Regions from separate parts of the Homo sapiens genome. Here regions 1, 2 and 3 are each linked to region 4. Evidence: promoter capture Hi-C in 16 types of primary human blood cells and fetal thymus (Javierre and others, 2016). All regions are on one chromosome and are shown on one strand. Each heading gives the region's core, a stretch centred on a gene start or on the middle of the fragment in contact. The rest is flanking DNA. Distances are from core to core; before and after follow the strand shown. Region 1 has its middle 2.0 kb from the start of RSAD2. Region 2 overlaps SH3YL1 (SH3 and SYLF domain containing 1). Region 3 has its middle 5.8 kb from the start of NRIR. Region 4 holds the start of RPS7 (ribosomal protein S7).

Region 1 (2,700 bases), core at 79-2,578, 3.3 Mb before region 4:
ACACATCATTTATTTACCTTTACAGTTTTTTTAGAAAGCCTTGTTGACCTTTTTACTGAAATCTTCCTTTTAGCCCTCTTTCATCAGAACTGTGTGTAAGTGTGTGGTCTTGTGCTTTCGTGACACCTGTAGGAAGTTGGAAGAGTCCTAGTAGCTGAACTTCCAGAGCCACAAATCATGTAGCTGGGTGACTGAGTAAGCGACTTTATTTCTCTGGATTTCCATTTCTTCATCAGCAAAGCAACGTATCTCAGGCGATTTTTGTGCAGAGTAAAACTGCTAATTTTTGTGAAGAATTCAGAATAGTGCCTGGCAAACTTTAAGTGTTCAGTTAGGGTTAGCTCCTGTTATTCTGATACTGTCATATTCTGAATAGAAACAGAAATGATTTATTTTACTTAAAAAAAATTAAACATGTTTAACTTAACATTTAACATCTGCAAAATTGTATGCTTAATGATTACCAAATATTCAACAGTAGATATGTCTCAGGTCCTTGAAATCTCAGCCCAAAGTTTCTTAAACTCTCATGCCATGGTCTTGCACAATTGAAAACCACTTTTGGATAGATCTCACTTCTTCATAAACATGTGATCATGAGAGGCATACAGGCACCTGTTAAATTTGAATCAAATTCTTTTGGGTTAACTTGGTTCCCCTTTCTGGCTGGAGCAACCTTTGAAGTCTCAAAGGTTAGGTCAGCACGATCCTAGTGGGGGTCTCTTGCAGGCATCTGTTAAAATAGGCTAGGAAAATCTTAAAGAGGCTCCAAATGCTTAGCCCAAACATAAGGAGGATCAAGACTTGTAGGGTGGCATGCAGAAGGAACCCTACTGCAGGGGAAGCCGGCTGGAAATATCTGGAGATCAGAAACTTAACCTAGAAGGTCCAGCCAGGAGGCTTTTTGAAGCTGTTTTTCAGAGATTTGGCTAGCCTTAAGATCTTAGATGTTTCAAATTCAACCTGCCTGGAAGTATTTACCCTGTGGAAAGTGGCAGCAACAGCACAAACATCACTCTGTGCAGGGAGGAGATAGTCTAAAGCAATGTGTTTGTCTAGGACCACACGAGCAAGGGAGTCTATGGACCTCTGTTGCACCCTGATGGCCTGGGTGGTAGAGCAGGCAATCCTGCGAACAGTTCAGGAAGGGTTTCTGATCATTTATGAATTCCAAGCAGAATCTAGTTTAAATTGGGACCGGAAAAACCTTCCTAATCTAGCTCCTTCTAGGGTTAACCCTTCTAGATGAATTATATCCTTGAGAGTATCCACAACTATTATCTTCATAATCTGAGGGATTATCATGAGTGTTGGATTATAGCTGTTAGAGAACAGGGCAGGTAGTGTTGGGGATAACTGAATAGATGGGAATTTGGGTAAAAGGTATTTCCATGGCCAAATCTCCTGGTGAGGATAACTCAAGCATTATTTCTCCTTTCTGGGAGAATAAAATATGGGCCTGGAATGTTTCTAAGAAGTCCCTGCCTAGGAAGTGTATGGAAGCCCAAAGGAAAAACAACTGCCCGTGAGGGGTACTAGTTGGAAAAGAATAGGTGAAGATTAGGAACCATCATAGGTTGGTTGGCTACCCCAACCATCTGGATGAATTCAGAACTCCAGGGAGGGTCCATGGAAAGCATGCTGGGGTTAAGGATGGACAGAGTAGCCCCAGTGTTGACCAGAGCTCTGATGAGTTTTCTCCAATCTTAATACCTAATTCCCCTAGTTGAATAATTCGAGTAGGGGAAATGTCCCAAGAGGCTCTATAGTTTTGCTTGAGGGAAGAGGGCTGGTAAACTTTATCAGGATTTAACTGTATCCAGATATTGTAGGAAATTAGGAGAACTCAGGATCCAGTCCAGTCTACAGGTAGAAAACCAGAACTTGAAAACAGTGCATAGGGCTTTAACCTAAAGTAGGTGCACGTTAGTTTTTCTTAAGAACATGACTTTTTCTCTCCACATTAATCATACAGGAACTTTCAGGTTTTAGAACCTCTAGAGGCTAGGAAGCCAAATCAAGGCAGGCTTTAGATTTTACTTAGGGTCTTAAGGTTCTTGGGCCTACCAGGAAGTGACAAGTTTTATGTATTCACTGTAAGGCTGGGAACTCTTGAAGCCAGGCATGTGATGACCCTTCTTAAATATGACTTTTCAATCAAAGCCTAGTAATATAATCAGTATTTCCAATAGTATCCTGCTTACAAAGGGAGAGCAGATTTTTACTGAACTTACAGAAATAAAATAAGAATGCTCACAAATAGTGTCTGAATTTTGGAGGACTCAAGTAGGGAGAAAGGCAAATGCTTCCACTTTTGTTCATAAAAGTATACTTCCCCAAATTATTGCAAACTATAACTAATGAAAGAAAAATTCCTTGAATCTGAAAAAAAATTTAAGTGTAGAACCAACATTTTAAATAAAAGTCATAAAGTTATCCTTATCAACTACTTACTTTCGGTTAATTAATTTTGCTTTCCTTAATTAGTAATTTTGGGCTATAGCTGATTGCAAATGCTTCTAGAGAAGAATTTAAAACAATAATCGTGGATGAGAAAAATCCAGAACAGCTATGATCAAAACTCTGATGAGAGTTTACAAGGAAATTGTAAGAAATAATGTAGAAATAATTGCAAGAAAATTTAAAAGAAAATTTAGGTATTTTTGTGGCATACAATCATTAAACTAAATAATCATACTC
Region 2 (2,700 bases), core at 181-2,680, 3.3 Mb after region 4:
GGCCCTTGGGTCTTCTTGCTTTCATTCCTGACCCTCCGTGTACAACTAGATTGGAAACCGTAGTCAGCTTTGTCACCTCAGGTGGCAATTTACTCCGAGTAGGATTCTCATGTCCCTGTTTGTCCCCAGTGACTCTAGCATTGAGTTTATAGAACTGCGATCAATACCTAAAATTATTTCCAGATCTTAAGCTGATTTATGCTTTTGAGGTTTCCAAAGTAAAAATTGTCTTTCCGGTATTTTATAAGACCTTCTAATTTAAAAAAAAAATGTGTTACTATGAAAATTTAAAACATTTTAACTTTTGTTTTAAAGAAAACTTTATTTGAAAGTTTCTTAGCTTGAGGTTTGGCAGCCACTCTTTTTTTAGAAAAAACTTAAATATTTATAGAGATTTTGCCTGATTCAAGGGACTTAAGACGTTTATGAGAGTGCAGATGCTAACCATGATGTGAGGTTTAAGAGGCTTCATTAGTAATGACCTGTGTCTTCATCAGTATGATAGAATGGGACATCAGCACTCTGATCAGGTCATGCTCTATATGCCTTATGGTACAGCAGAGGAAAAATGGGTGAGCCATCATTTGATGCTGAGGATGGGATTTGAGGCTTATGTCTAAATTTTTATTTGCATATTCTTTTTGTTCTGACAGAGAAATTCACTGCATGTAACTATGACCACGCATGATTTTATCAGAAGTTGATTAGAATCTGTAACATTTTCTGTAGTTCAGCTGACACACTGAAGATGTCCTCACTGTGACCAGCCTTGTCAACAGCTGGATCACAGTGACATAAGCTGTGTCTAGGATGAGTCTTGCGGTCTGCAGCCGTGTGAGGCTGCATCTGATTCCCAAGTCCAATGGCTCTCTTCCCGTGTTTACAGATCAGGCCATGACCTTTCCCTACAGCAGGATGTTTGCAAGATTAACTCTCAACTGAGGAATTTGCTTATTTGCTCTAATACTGCTTGGTTGAGAGAGTTCAAAGTAGAAAGTCTTCTGAGGGGATAAGATTCATGTATTATTTACAGTGCTTCAGTTGCATGTATCAGAAAATCTAGTCTAAATTGCTTTAACAGAAAAAGATGTTGCTGGTCCATTTGACGAAGAAGTCCAGAGCGGCTTGTGACTTCAGTCTGGCTTTGCAGAGCCCAGGTGCTCTCTCCACCTTCTGCCAGGTTCCCCTATGAAGGCTTTGCTCTCAGACTCTCCCCTTGTGGAGACAAAAATCCCACAGCAAGTGGAAACAGAAGTGCCTTGGAAAAAGTTATTCTGGCAGCTCCTATACAAGTCCCCCATCAGATGCTGGTATTGGACCAGCTTTGGTTATAAAGCCCTGCTGTGGCACCAAAAGGAATGTCGTCCTGATACAGCAGCCTCGGGTCACCCAATCCACTCCAGATACTATGGCTGCAGCATCAATGTAAGCAGACAAGTTGTGCTGCCTCTGAAATAAAGTAGATGAAATATTCAGCAGCAGAAAGAACAAGTTTCCACTCCAGTGAACTAATTCAAATGTATCCAGCATCTAGATATATGTATAAATGTAATTAAAACATATTGAGCATCTAGAGCATCTCTCCCAAGATAATTACCACCTGATAGTAATGGCTATAAAAGCTAAAAGTGGAATCAGTCTACATGTTTCGCAATAGGAATCAATTGAAGCATACATCAAAATGCAGACAGTAGTATTGGTGAGTATTAATGTTATAGATGCTTTTTATCCTTCATATTTTCATATCTGTACTTTTTCCTGTATTTTACAATGTATTTGTACGTTGTACAAATAATTGCTGATCATGTAAAAATATAGAAATATAGAAATTTTGTTGCCATACTTGGGTCTTTTCCACTATGAAATTGAAAAAAAATTCTATAATTCCTGGTTCTTTTATAATTTGATATTTGACACTCTAAATCTTCAATGAATTTGGAGTTTATCTTTCTGTAACACAAAGCTGTGAATGAATTTTTGTTTTTCTCCCCAAATGAACATTATCTAGTATGCAATACATCATTTCAACATAGAATTGAGGTGTCATTTTTATTATATACTAAATTTGTAAATATATTTGGGTTAATTTCTGAATTTTCTTCTTTGTGAATTGATTTTTCTCCTATATTTGCATCTGCTATTATGTATTAATTATTGAGGCTTTGTAATGTGTCACAGGTTCTGTCAAGGCTGGGCTGTCATTGTTCTCCTATTACATATTTTTTCCTAGCTCTTCTTGCTTGTTTATTTTCCCATTTGAACTTCAAAATTACTGTGTTTTATTAAAAGACCCTTGTAAGATAGAAGACAGATTTGATTTCATTAAGAAAAAACAGAAAAAAAAGCAAATTCAAAAGACAAGTAACAGAGAGTCAATGTTTTTAACTCATATTCCAAAAAAATATTAATTTTTAATGTATAAATTAATAAGAAACAGAGAGAAACCCCCTGTAAATAACAAGGTGCATGAGAAACCTTTGATAGAGAGAGTGAAATGTGGTCAGCATTGCTCATCATAAAAGAACAAATGGAAAATGCACTGAGAGCTACTGGCCAGGGCAGCGAAATGGCTCCTGCTACTCACACATGGTAAACAGCTAGGAAACTGGACAGCTGTGTGTAGAGCACTTTTTGCACATGGTGGACATGTCTGAGATCCACAAGATAAGGGGAACAGGAGGTGAACTCCATTAGTGACCG
Region 3 (2,700 bases), core at 115-2,614, 3.3 Mb before region 4:
CTTAGGTAAATAGCAAGGGAAGGGTCCCCAGAGAGCCCTCGGCCCACCAGTCAGTGCCTCACCCCACATAATGTAAAAAGCAGCCTGGGGAAAAAATCAAGCTGCAGGCACTGATAAGGGAACTAGCACAGGGTGTTGTGCCTGGAGACATGCCTACGGCTGCACAGATAGGAGAGCCTCTGGCCCATTCAGATAAAAGCTTGCACAAACCTCTGGCTCACTCAGATGAGGGAACAAGTCCTGGCATAAAAACACCTTTGTCCTTTGTATAGTCAGCAGGCTCCCAGGAAAAAGTTTTTTTCTCCTTTTGTGGGCGTGGGCACAGTGGGCTCCAGTTAGTTCCAGTGGGCACTTTCCTTGCCAGTTTTTGGACTGTGAGTCTGGCCTCTGTGAATCATAACTTCAGCCCCTGATTGGTCCCAGGCAAAGGTCCTAGGCCAGGCTTTCTGATTGGTCCTGGGCCAGGGTGCCTGGCCAAGCTGAGTCATGCCTTCTCCAAGACAGCCGGTAGACTAAGCACATTCATTCCCCTTTCCAGCCCGTAAAACCCCCACAACTGGCCTCATAGTGGGCACCCCATTAGAGCTCCCCCTTCTGCTGGCAGAGAGCTTTCTTTTTTCGCTTATTAAAGTTTCACTCCAACTTCACCCTTGTTGTCTGCACTCCTTAATCTTCTTGGAATTAGGACAAAGAACTCTGGATATTATCTCAGACAACGGGAGACTGTTACATCTTGGTGCATTGGTAAGATTACAACACATTTTGGTGCATTGGCTGGGAAGAAGGGAATTCATCAGAAGGATGATTAAGAGTTGACCTTTAACTTTCACCTTTACTTGCATTTCTGAGGCTTCTTGTCTATTCCAGTCTAGTTTGCTTTCACAGAGGGCCTAGCCATCATGTGGGATTGGAAGGTCCCAGGGCAACTGAAGGTTTCTGGCTGGGGCTACCCCCTCAGTGTTATCTGAAGGCCCTTGGACTAACTCCAGTCCCCTACAGCCCATCAGGGAGTCAGCACAAAGACTTGCAATCTTTTCCTATTGCATTTTCCTTCTTTCTTCTTGTGGCTATCATGTCTCCAACCTCTTCTTTCTATGCAATGTTGTGGGTGTTTTTGTAACCTAGGGATATAATCTTGCGGAGTAGAGTTAGTTGGTATCTTAATAATCAAGAATGTAATTCAAAGAGTTGTTGTTTTTGTGATTTCCTGGAAACAGGGAATTCAAGACTTCAGTCTAAATTTTCACCTAGTAAGGGCCTTTCTATCCCTCAATAATAGACATTCATGGCACCATATGGGAGGATCTTTCACCCCGAGTGAATATCCTCGTCTCCTTTTGGGTTGTTTTTTTCCTCCATATAATAGCTCAGCATTGTCCAGTGAATTTAAACAGTTCTTTTATGAGAGAAGTTAATTTTCTTACGGTCTGGGCTTGCTATGGGGGCAACCTATCAAACCCCAAATCTCTCTTTCTAACTTTTGCCTGAAAAGAATTTGGAGTCAGAGTTTTTACCTAACATTTCTAACCCTACAATGCCACCTAGTGGAAAGGAATTTTTCTCCCTGGGGAGCCTTATCATCCCTCTGCCCCAAACTCCTTGTTTCCCAATTCTTTTCCCTTTTACGTTCCTCTATCAGTGATCAGAGCCCATGTCCTATTTGTAGACCAAACAACAAAAAAAATCTCCACTTTCAACAGCTGGGAGGTAGCCATCCTGATAAGACAAATCTTAGCTTCAATACTCTCCCCATCAAAGGAATGGCAGCCATTCAATTCTTATGCTCATTTGAGGCACCTGTTCTGCATTCAACTACAATGGGATTTTTTAAAAAAGGAATTTTATGTTTGGAAGTTAATCAGTCCCATTCTGTGGAATTCTGATTTTTCACTGGGGCTATAGCAAGGGAAGCCACAGATGGTATTAGGACATTCCCTGCATTAAAGAGTCTTGCCCAAACCCAACTACTACAGAATCTCTCCTAGGCCTCTTAGGGTACTTTGGGAGCCTTTTGGGTTGAGTGGGTCTAGGAATCCAGCAGGGCAGAAAGCTAGAGCCTTATGCAGGTGAGCATGACTAGTCCTGCCCTACTGGCTCCTCTGGATCCATGGGTGAAGGATATGCTTGCATCCATGGGGCGGCACCTATGATGGCTGCAGGGACCCAGAGGAGAGAAGGAAGGAGAAGAGGAATGCCTTTTCTCTCTTTCCCTCCACCCTGGGTAACGCAGAGAGGAGGAAGGGGACTGAGGGATGCCTTGTCTCCCATCTCTTATTAGATGGGTAACAAACCATCTGCAGTCTGTAATCTCCTCGAGTGCATTCTGAATCACTGGAACTCCTTTGATGCTGAGGTTCTGATGATAAAATGGCTCATATTCTATTGTACAAGGACATGGCCTTTTTACCATCTTGGAGATGAAAAAACCTGGCTTTCTGAGGGAAGTCTTTTTTTATATACTATTCAACAACTAGATATTTTCTGTAGGCAGGAGGGTAAATGGTCCAAGGTTTACTATATACAAGCTTTCTTTGCCCTGCGAGACAACCCAAATCTTTGTAAGCATTGTACAGTTGACCCCACACTCTTGGCAGCCATGTCAGACAAGCCTACAAAAGATACTTCCCCAAAATCAGAGAGTCAAACCCTTTGGGGAATCCTCAAATGCAACTTCTGGGTGCCCTACCTGCCTCACTTATT
Region 4 (2,700 bases), core at 14-2,513:
TATGATAGCTTTCCGACCACCACCAACTTCAATTTCCTAAAGAAAAAAACAAAAATCCACTGTGTTAACTGCTTCAGAAAGTAAACGTTGTGGTCAAATTAGAGGATAAGAAGACCTTATCACTAACACCGTAGCTGCACTACAAACTAATACTAGTTTTGAGTTAATCATAAATGCATCCTTCGGAAATGTTCTCATCTCTCTCCAACCTTCACATTTCCTTATTCCAGGAAGGGAGACTGTTCAGGCCAGGAGGCCAATCACTACCACTTCTGCACCCCCACTTGCGGCAACTCCGGGCTAAGGGTAGAGAGAATCTCATCCTGAGCTCCCCACAGCTCTTTGCCGTATCTATAACTAAGTAAGGGCAAATAAGGTCCGAAATGGGCCCAGGCCCTCCCTACTCCACGTTTCTCCACCGCCCGCATGTGGACAGCTTAAGCCGCAGGGTACCTGCAACCCCACTCCCCGCACCTGGGCGGTATCACTCCCAAACAACACGGCCGAACCTGAGTTCAGGTTAGGCGGCCAGGCGGCAAGTCATCATCAACCGTAACCCAGGTCCAACCCTCTCAGGCACTGCGCGGGGAGACGCGCCGCAACCTCCCTCCCAGCCGAGGGAGCGCCAGCTTACCTTAGCTGCCGTAATATTCAGCTCCCTGAGCTGAGCCTTGAGGTCCGAGTTCATCTCCAGCTCCAGAAGAGCCTAAGAAGCAACGAACAGCAGGACCGACCCTGAGCGCGCGTCCGAGCACCCCGGGCCCAACACACGCGCGGCCGCCTCCCCTCCCGGGCGGGGCGCCTCCCCCCACCCCAGACCCCAGGGAAACCCTCTCACCTGGGAGATGCCGGACTCGAACTCGTCCGGCTTCTCGCCATTGGGCTTCACGATCTTGGCGCTCGAACTGAACATGGCTTTCTCCTGGGAGAACTGAAGGCACAGCGGTCAGCGTTACGCGGCCCGGGCTGCAGGCGCCGCTGGCTCGCCCTCCCGCCCGCACCCCCCGGCCAGGCCCCGCTCGCCCCGCAGAAGCCATCGGAAAGCACAGGGCGGGTAATCGGCTGTATCCCCACCCTGTGAGCAAGGCTCGCCCCTCCAGGGCCTGACTCCAAAAGGCGTTTTCCTCAACCCAAGAAGAAAAGTTCTGTCGGAGAGCAGGCCGCCAACCTACCTTGCCGAGCGCCGGCTTAGGAAGAGACCCAAATCTCGCGAGAGCACGTCAAAATCCGGCGTCCGAAGGCAAGAGGCGGAAACAGCGCGAGGAGGAGGGCGGAAACCGGAACATCACTGAGAAGCGGTAGGAGGCTAGAGAGTCCCAGGAAGCGGCTCTGGGGACGAGTGTCTTGGTAACGCTTTTCCGCCCTAGGATTCGTACTTTGGTGCCGTTTCCGAGCGTTCCGGTACCGGCTCCCAAGGTTCCCGTCTTCAGTGCAGGTTGCAGGCGGGAACCGGCCTCGTCCCAGCCCTGGGCCTGGGAGAGAGAAGGAGGCCGAAGAAAACCAACTTCGGCAACCTCCGGAGACAGGACGTTTAAAAAAGGCTAACTTGGCTGGGCGCTGAGGCTCACGCCTGTAATCCCAGCACTTTGGGAGGCCGAGGCAGGAGGATCACTTGAGCTCAGGAACCAGCCTGGGCAACATGGCGAGACCCCATGTCTACAAAAAAAAAAAAAAAAAAATTAGCCAGTCATGGTGGTGCGCGCCTGCAGTCCCAGCTACCCCGGAGGCCGACGCGGGAGGATCGCTGGAGCCGAAAGGTCGAGGCTGCCGTGAGCCGAGGTTGCACCACTGCACTCCAGCCTGGGCGACAGCGCAAGACCCTGTCTAAAAATAAATTTAAAAAAAATTGCGAGGCCTTCATTCTATGCTAGTACTGTACTAGGTGCTAATTATTAAGTAAAACCGACTGAACTCTTGCCCTCATGGAGCTTACAGTTCAGTGGAGAAGACATTACCTAAAGCAGTATGACTAAATATATAATGACATATTGTAATAACTTACATAACAGTACAATGAGAGGGTGGGGAGGGATTATTTATGCTTTAAGAAGTCGGGAATCCTGGAACGGAATGACATTAGACTGAGACACGGAAGAGCCGCAGGATCTATTGCTGGGGAAGAGCATTCCAGACAGGGAGGAACTCGTGCCGAATGATCCCGCTGTGGACAGGGAATTTAATCTGAGCTTCGGTTTCCTCTTCTGTCAAATGTCATGCAAGAGTTACTTTCAGCCGTGGTCCAGGCACTGTGAAAAATGCAGAAGCCACACTAGGTGCCCTCTCTCAGGATTCCCAACCACCTTTACCAAGCAGAGATGGTATTCATCCCACATTTTTAATGCTAGATATGCTCCCGCCCGGTGCTTCTCTAATAATGTTTTTTAAAAGGTAAGTGACTGTCTCCTTGGAAAATTAAGGATAACTTGAAGTTTCTTCCAGATAGAAAGTAAACTACAGCTGCGTCTACAATCTCATCTGGGCAGTCGTTCTGAGCCCTTTTGTCGAACTAGGTCCATTTCCTTACTCCACATGCACTTTTCGACCTGGCTTTTATCTCTGCTGCTCTATAAAAGTAGTAATCTAAAAGTTCATCCAGTAAAGCTTTTTCTCTGTGAACCTATCACTTGAGAACAAAAAAAATTAAAGTTATTTCTGGTTTCCAGTCCTTTGTTGAATAGGAGTGGTGAGCAAGGACATCCG

The links. The method cuts DNA at HindIII sites, captures the fragments that hold promoters and counts their contacts. A CHiCAGO score of 5 or more calls a contact.
Region 1: a fragment that was not itself captured here is called in contact with the fragment with the promoter of RPS7 in region 4 in 1 of 17 cell types (monocytes); the score reaches 5.5 in monocytes.
Region 2: a fragment that was not itself captured here is called in contact with the fragment with the promoter of RPS7 in region 4 in 2 of 17 cell types (fetal thymus and monocytes); the score reaches 5.7 in fetal thymus.
Region 3: a contact is called between a fragment that was not itself captured here and the fragment with the promoter of RPS7 in region 4, in 2 of 17 cell types (non-activated CD4 T cells and M0 macrophages). The highest score is 5.8, in non-activated CD4 T cells.

The regions. Positions count from the first base shown.
Region 1 is chr2:6,874,384-6,877,083 of GRCh38, reverse strand. It overlaps a transcript of RSAD2 not described here. Among named protein-coding and RNA genes, the nearest start is that of RSAD2, 2.0 kb to the left of the region's middle. The HindIII fragment of the contact is 4,988 bases long and covers 1-2,700 here.
Region 2 is chr2:259,084-261,783 of GRCh38, reverse strand. All of the region lies in intron 1 of SH3YL1 (SH3 and SYLF domain containing 1), which reads left to right. Among named protein-coding and RNA genes, the nearest start is that of SH3YL1, 3.6 kb to the left of the region's middle. The HindIII fragment of the contact is 3,075 bases long and covers 1-2,700 here.
Region 3 is chr2:6,844,947-6,847,646 of GRCh38, reverse strand. It overlaps a transcript of CMPK2 not described here. Among named protein-coding and RNA genes, the nearest start is that of NRIR, 5.8 kb to the right of the region's middle. The HindIII fragment of the contact is 2,326 bases long and covers 202-2,527 here.
Region 4 is chr2:3,573,823-3,576,522 of GRCh38, reverse strand. It overlaps RPS7 (ribosomal protein S7), which reads right to left and starts at 1,263. Exons shown (of 7, transcript NM_001011.4): 1 at 1,173-1,263; 2 at 839-931; 3 at 635-706; 4 at 1-36. The coding sequence starts at 913. LOC124907726 (a long non-coding RNA gene) reads left to right here and starts at 1,414. Exons shown (of 2, transcript XR_007086196.1): 1 at 1,414-2,388. RefSeq lists a silencer at 717-1,006 and enhancers at 558-1,134, 1,135-1,710. The HindIII fragment of the contact is 5,628 bases long and covers 1-2,603 here.